2 separate regions of the Homo sapiens genome follow, and region 1 is linked to region 2. Evidence: promoter capture Hi-C in human tissues and cell types (Jung and others, 2019). All regions are on one chromosome and are shown on one strand. The core of a region is centred on a gene start or on the middle of the fragment in contact, and the rest is flanking DNA. Distances in the headings are between cores, read along the strand shown. Region 1 overlaps TLN1 (talin 1). Region 2 holds the start of HRCT1 (histidine rich carboxyl terminus 1).

The links. The method cuts DNA at HindIII sites, captures the fragments that hold promoters and counts their contacts. A contact is called where the count stands out against the background at its distance.
Region 1: a fragment that was not itself captured here is called in contact with the fragment with the promoter of HRCT1 in region 2 in 1 of the 25 tissues and cell types used here (hippocampus).

Annotation. Positions count from the first base shown.
Region 1 is chr9:35,727,468-35,730,824 of GRCh38, forward strand. All of the region lies in intron 1 of TLN1 (talin 1), which reads right to left. Among named protein-coding and RNA genes, the nearest start is that of TLN1, 3.0 kb to the right of the region's middle. RefSeq lists enhancers at 1-440, 2,836-2,895. The HindIII fragment of the contact is 3,260 bases long and covers 1-3,044 here.
Region 2 is chr9:35,904,084-35,907,575 of GRCh38, forward strand. It overlaps HRCT1 (histidine rich carboxyl terminus 1), which reads left to right and starts at 2,119. Exons shown (of 1, transcript NM_001039792.2): 1 at 2,119-3,053. The coding sequence starts at 2,205. The coding sequence ends at 2,552. It overlaps LOC124902149 (a long non-coding RNA gene), which reads right to left and starts at 1,587. Exons shown (of 3, transcript XR_007061471.1): 1 at 285-1,587. RefSeq lists an enhancer at 785-1,666. The HindIII fragment of the contact is 3,304 bases long and covers 423-3,492 here.

The DNA.
Region 1 (3,357 bases), core at 165-2,664, 180 kb before region 2:
TTACAAGCAGTCCAGAGTCTCAAAAGAGAAGAACCACAGCTCTCTGTCTTTACTCCCCAATAAGAGAGGACCCTCCCAGTCTCCCCAGTTCCAGCTCTCTGCCCCCTCCCCACTCCTGGGGCACTTTGCCCAACCTTATTACTATCCGCTTGTGTCCCAGCTGGACAGACCTGGCTATGGGGTTGCTGACCATGAAAGAATGAGGGCTGGGCTGGTGGATCCGAGAAGCTGGAGGAGTCTGTGGAGCCAAGAAGCAGGACTGAAAGGACCCTTCACACTAAGCTGAAACTGCATGTCTCCCCCCATTTCCTCTGGACACTTAGACACCCCCTTCCTCCTCAAGCACGGAAGCCTCTGGTGAGACCCCGATAAGGGAGCTGAGTCATGCCTACCCTTACTCCCCAGCTGGTCCAGAGTGGATATTCACACAGCTACAAGAGGGTGTGTGGACGCGAAGAACTGATCAGTGAATTGTGGGTGGTGGTGGCAAAGAACAAGGCTGCTACAAGTATGAGTAGAAGCTAGCTCATTCCTCCTTTGGCCTGAGAACTTTGCTCCCTTTTCCATTGTGTTTGATGGAACAGCAACTCCCCACTGCCGTGTCCCCCTCCCAGGGAACTCCTCCTCCCTCAATACATTCCTGCGATGCATTCCAAAGAAGTTGGGCAATTGGAGGGGGGGAATGGAGGACAGGAGGTCAAATCCCAGCAAGGAATGGAATGTAAGAGTATTGGAGCTAAGAAAGTTGGGGTACTTGGAGAATATAGTCAGAGCAGATACCCACAAGGGGAATTGCAGAAAGATAGGGAGTTACAGACAGGAACAAAAGGAAAGAGCTTAAGACAGTCAGAATATAAGAGGGATGGGGGAGTAACACTCAGTCTGTTACCAAATTTGGCCTCTGAGTCCGCAACCGCTGGCAGTGGGGGAGGGCTGTGGGTGAGACTGACATATCCGGCCTCAGGCTGCTGGAGACTCATTTAGAGCTGGACTGGGCAGCTAGCTGAAGGGCTGCACAGAACTTCCCCCGGTACAGCCCCTCCATACTCAAATGCACACTCATTCTCCCCAGATGCACCCCAGCCTAGGCAGAGCTCTTTCCCACAAAGCTACCTTACTCTCTCTATACACACATTATCTCAATCACACAGCCCCCACACAGATCCCATCACGACTGCATTATCTTCTCCTAGGGAGCCCATCCTATGCACACAGCTTTTGCACAGATAACCTCCATAACAAGCACACCCGGCACCCAGTGTCTCTCCTCCCATTATGTAGACATTCTCCATTCACCCAGCAAGCATTCCTTGAGGGCCAGCTGTGGGGAAGACCCTGGGCCAAACTTTCAGTGGCTGGGGACCAAGATCAGTAAGACCTAGCCTTTGAGTTCAAAGGGCTCCCAGTCCACGAGATGAGTGAATAAGCCAAGTACAGAATCACAACGGAGGGCAGGATGTGGTAAGAGCCAAAAGGTGTGTGCTCAGAGAGATCCCTTTAGGTCAGGGAAGGGGAACCAAAAAGTCTCCATGATAAGTATCATTTGAAGCTAGAATTTTAAAAAATAGAGATAATAAAAAACAATAGTGATCTGCCATTTATTGACTATGTCACTTGCATTGTATACATAATTTCATTTAATCCTTACAGTAGGTGTCATTATTTCCATTTTTACAGATCAGAAAACAGACTCAAAGATGTTAAATACTTGTTCAAATACTTCTCCAAATAATAAGTTGTGAAGCCAGGATCCGAACCCAGGTTTCTGACTGCAAAGCCCAAGCTTTCTCCACTACGCCAGCCAGCTGGAGATGTGTCAGGGGTAGTTTTCACTCCAGGCAGAGAAATAGCATAAGCAAAGATGGAGAAGCAGTAAATCGTGGAGGAGCATTCAGGGAAGTGAGCAGGCAGGCTGTTGAAGCACAGGGGTACCTGCAAGGGAGCAGTGGTGGGGAAGTCAGGGTTAGGATGGAAAGGCAGAGGAAGACTGGAGAGGGGTATGAGGAATTTTACTTATTGGAGGACAAAAGGAAGCCAAGGGAGTCTTTGAGCAGAGAAGAGACATAACCGGAACTGGATTTTAGAAAAATAACTCTGGCAGTTACCTTGGAGATTAGTTAGAAGGACACTGTATTAGTACAAATTAAAGGTAATGAAGCCGGAGTTGGAATGGCATTGAGGAAGATGTCACTCAGAACAAGTTTGGGGAGGTAGAAATGACAGGACCTAATAACTACTAAGGTAGACAGGTTAGAGTCCCACAGCTTCCTATCATCAGCAGCCACTTTAGCGGCTGGGGCAGCTTGAGTTTAGGCGACGAATTGGGAAGAGGGGAAAGGATCAGGTTGGGCAGAGAATGTGAGGATGAGGCTGTGGTTACGGGATGTGGTTAGGCTGTGGGGAAAAAGGGTATGAGTATATGATTAGTAGCCACTAGGGGCAGATGGGGTTGGGTTAGTGACTGCATCAGGCTGGGAATGGGGAAGACAGGGTGTAGAAAAAGGATGAGAAGACAGGGTGTAGAAAAAGAATGCTGGTGATGATGGTGTTTGGAAAAATACATATACATAAGATACATATATGACCAGTCACTGCATCAGGTTGGGGGAAGGGGAATGATTACATGGATGGTGGCTAAGTCAGGGAATGATGGGGTGAGGTCAGAGGCCAGGTCAGGCTATAGGAGGTTGAGAAGAGCTGGGCCTGTGGTCAGTCACTAAATCAGACTGGGGTGGGGGTGGGAAAGTGAAGGGACATTGGCAATGTCTAAGTAAAGCTGGAGCTGGGATGGGGGATGGGGTACAGCCAGTGGCTGGGTCAGGCTGAGTAGAGGATAGTGCTGTGGTCAGTGGCAGGGTCAGGCTGGGAGTGAAGTGGGGGTGTGGTCAGTGGCCTGGCTGGGCGTGGGATCAGCAAGACCCAGTTTCCTCTTTGGGTCTCGTTTCCTCTTTTCTGTTGGGGAGTGGGGGAAGGGGATCTACAAATGGTCCAAGAAATTAAAAGAGGCTTAGATCCAGGGGGTGACACACAGCAGGGGATGGGAGTAGGGTATTCAGCAGATGACCAGGTGGAATGTAGGTACATGACTGGGTGAAAATGGTAGGAGAGTAATTTAAAATGATGGGAAAGCTCAGGTTTTGATGAGGGTAAATTCAGGTAGGATGTGCGGATTAAAGGTTGGTGAGGGAGGTAGAACTAAGGATGGGAACGGATGATAAGATGAGCATGGGAGAGTTAAAGGCAAGGGAAGTATTTTGTAAGGGGATAGGCAGGATGGGTGTGAAATGCAGAGTCAGGGATGAGAGTTGGAGAGGAGGGCTTAATACCAAGAGAACAAGTGAAGTGGGAGAAGCAGGG
Region 2 (3,492 bases), core at 869-3,368:
TGTATTCTCAATGGCTGTCCCTCACTGCCCCCAGGAGTGCCCAAAGCATCTAAACAAATGTTCACTTTGGGATCCTACTACCCAGATGGAGAGTGAACCTGCACCTAAGGAAACAGATGTCGTGTGTATGTGTATGTGTGAGGGGGCACTCCCAACCCCTGCGCCCTCCAGGTTTATTCACATCTCCACCTCATCTTCCCGCTGTCTCTGTGGAAGGCCCTGCTGATCTCAGGCTGTCACTCTGGACGGCTCCCTCACTGCAGGGATGGTGCTCTGTTGAGTACCTGCTGTATAGATTAGCGCACGAGGCTGGGAGAACTTAGGCAAGTGTTTCCCTTCTCTGGCTTCAGTTTCTCCATCTGTCAGTGAAGGCTGAGTCTGGGTGATTCCAAGGGGCCGTTTGAGCTGACTGAAGTTCTTCAAGTTCATAGTTGTAAGGTCCTGCCCCGCCGCCAGCGGCTGGTGTGGGGTGGGAGTCTTCCTGGAGAAGTTCTGAGGACGAAAATCCCCTGTTTGCCTTCCTCCTCCTCCTCCTCACAACAGACTTCCCTCCTTAACTTCCCTAGGGAAGGCAGCCGGGCTCCCAGGGCCCCAGGAGTCTGCAGGAGGAGTTCTTACTCCAGCATCATTAAAAGTTCAAGTAGCTCCCCCAAGGGCCAAAGAAGTGCCAGGATTCATTAGACCTGCTGCCCCCTGAGCCCAGTTTGGTTGAAGGGAATGTTTAGCCTTTTCATCTGGTGAGGGTTTTCATTAAGGGTTTGAGGCCTCCCTAAGAGAACTCACCTCAGACTGAGGTCAGAGGGGGAAGGGTCCCTGGAGGTCACCTCTTGCTCCGGGAGTTCTGCAGAGGAGACAGGCTGGATCAGGGCAAGGGGTTTGCCCAACATCACAGGGTGGAGGTGCTGCCAGAACTCAGAGAACCAGCCTTGCGGTGTCTGCAGACATTCCTCCAGGCGGTAGGGAGATGAGCCTGGAGGGAGGGGCTGGGGACTCAGCCTGGAGGGACCCTGCAGAGCCAGACACAGAGCTGGGGCTTTGGGGAGCCCCACTGCATGTGAGGAAGAGCTTGGAGAACAGCCCAGCATGCCCACAGCAGAAAGGGTTGCCCAGAGAGAGAGTGAGCACCTGTTGCTGAGGTCTGTCAGCAGGATGGGACGGTGCCTCCCAGGAGGAACAGAGGGGATTTGGGCCTGGCGGGTGGGCTTGGAGGGACAGTCAGTACTGCTCAGATCCTGCCGCTCTGTAAATGCTCCACTAGGCAGGAATGGCACTCATCACTGCTGGGCAGGGAGGGTGTGACAGAGCAAGGAGCATGCCATTTATGGCCAGTTGAGACTGTTGAACTGGGAACCAGGAGGCTGGGCTGTGCCTGCCCTCTCTGAGCTCAGTGGCCTCCTTCTTGCCTCCCAGCAAGCTTGGGAGGACACCCAGACCCTCCTGCCTCCCAGAACAGGCCGGATGGAGGACCTCCCTGGATGGCAAAATCTGCCTGTGGTGCCTCCCTGAGCTTCTCAAGCTCATTGAGCTCGGGATGGCTCATCTGACAGAGCCTGACTCAGCCCCGGAGGGCTCTGCAGGCTGCAGGACAGGGAATCACAGACTCTCAGATGTCAGTGTCTCCTGAGCCATGGAGTCCATTGCAGTAATATCAGTTGCAAACATGACGGGAGCTGGTGTTGCTGCTTTACGCATCTCAACTCCTTTAGTCCTCGGAACACCCTACTGAGGAAGGAACCGTTATCAGCCATTTTACAGAAGAGGAAACAGGACAGAGAGGTTAAGTAACTTGTGCACAATCTCAGAGCAAGTGAGTGGCGTGGCTCCAAAGCCCGTGTTGTTCATCTCTGTTCTACACAGTCTCTACGAGAGGAGACTGAAGTGCGGAGAGGGAAGGTCACTGAGCCAGGCAGCAGGAGGGTTTCTTTCCTCTAGACTCAGGGCTCCTCCCTCAACCAGATCCAGCCTGACAGCTCCTCTGTCTCCACCTGGCCTCCCTGCCAGGCCTCCTCAGAGTTAACAGCGGCCTGGCCTCACCCTTGGCCAGCAGTTGCAAGTCCAAACAGGCTTCGCCCACATTCCCTGGCTGCTCTCCAGCCCGCAGCAGAGACAACAAAGTTCAGTGACTGAGAGGGCTGAGCGGAGGCTGCTGAAGGGGAGAAAGGAGTGAGGAGCTGCTGGGCAGAGAGGGACTGTCCGGCTCCCAGATGCTGGGCCTCCTGGGGAGCACAGCCCTCGTGGGATGGATCACAGGTGCTGCTGTGGCGGTCCTGCTGCTGCTGCTGCTGCTGGCCACCTGCCTTTTCCACGGACGGCAGGACTGTGACGTGGAGAGGAACCGTACAGCTGCAGGGGGAAACCGAGTCCGCCGGGCCCAGCCTTGGCCCTTCCGGCGGCGGGGCCACCTGGGAATCTTTCACCATCACCGTCATCCTGGCCACGTATCTCATGTGCCGAATGTGGGCCTCCACCACCACCACCACCCCCGCCACACCCCTCACCACCTCCACCACCACCACCACCCCCACCGCCACCATCCCCGCCACGCTCGCTGAGGCTGCTGTCGCCGGTGCCTGTGGACAGCAGCTGCCCCTGCCCTCCCATCTGTTCCCAGGACAAGTGGACCCCATGTTTCCATGTGGAAGGATGCATCTCTGGGGTGAACGAGGGGAACAATAGACTGGGGCTTGCTCCAGCTGCATTTGCATGGCATGCCCCAGTGTACTATGGCAGCAGAGAATGGAGGAACACTGGGTCTGCAGTGCTGAAGGGTTTGGGGAGTGGAGAGCAAGGGTGCTCTTTCGGGGCTGGACAGCCCGTCTTGTGACAGTGACTCCCAGTGAGCCCCAGAAATGACAAGCGTGTCTTGGCAGAGCCAGCACACAAGTGGATGTGAAGTGCCCGTCTTGACCTCCTCATCAGGCTGCTGCAGGCCTCTGGCGGGCAGGGCACTGGGAGAGGCCCTGAGAATGTCCTTTTGGTTTGGAGAAGGCAGTGTGAGGCTGCACAGTCAATTCATCGGTGCCTTAGTCCAAGAAAATAAAAACCACTAAGAAGCTTTTGTGAAGAGGCTCTTGATTGCAGCATAGTGGGAGGGAGGGAGCTGCCTGGCCTGTGTCCTCATTGCCCTGGGACCTCCCTCTCTGATGGGAAGCGTGTGGCTGGAGCAGGCGGCTTCTGTCTGGTTCTTAGGGGCTGGTTGTGGAGTGGGAAGAATTGGGTGGGCTCTGTCTGAGCTCTGAGGGAGGATTCAGGGTTTGCACAAAACCCTGCCCACAGCAGGTCCTGTGTGCACCAGCAGGGCTCTGGCCTTCCGCGGGACAGTCCTCGGGGAGAGGAAGGTTGGAGCCGCTGCGAGCCTGGCTCCCCAGGGCTCTGCCCCTGTACTTTTTTCAGCCCATGTCCAGGGCAGACTGAGCTCTGAAACTCGAGGAAGCCCCATCCACAGGCTGCCTTGAATCCAGTTTCCTTGGTAATTGGATCAGGGTTTCTTCT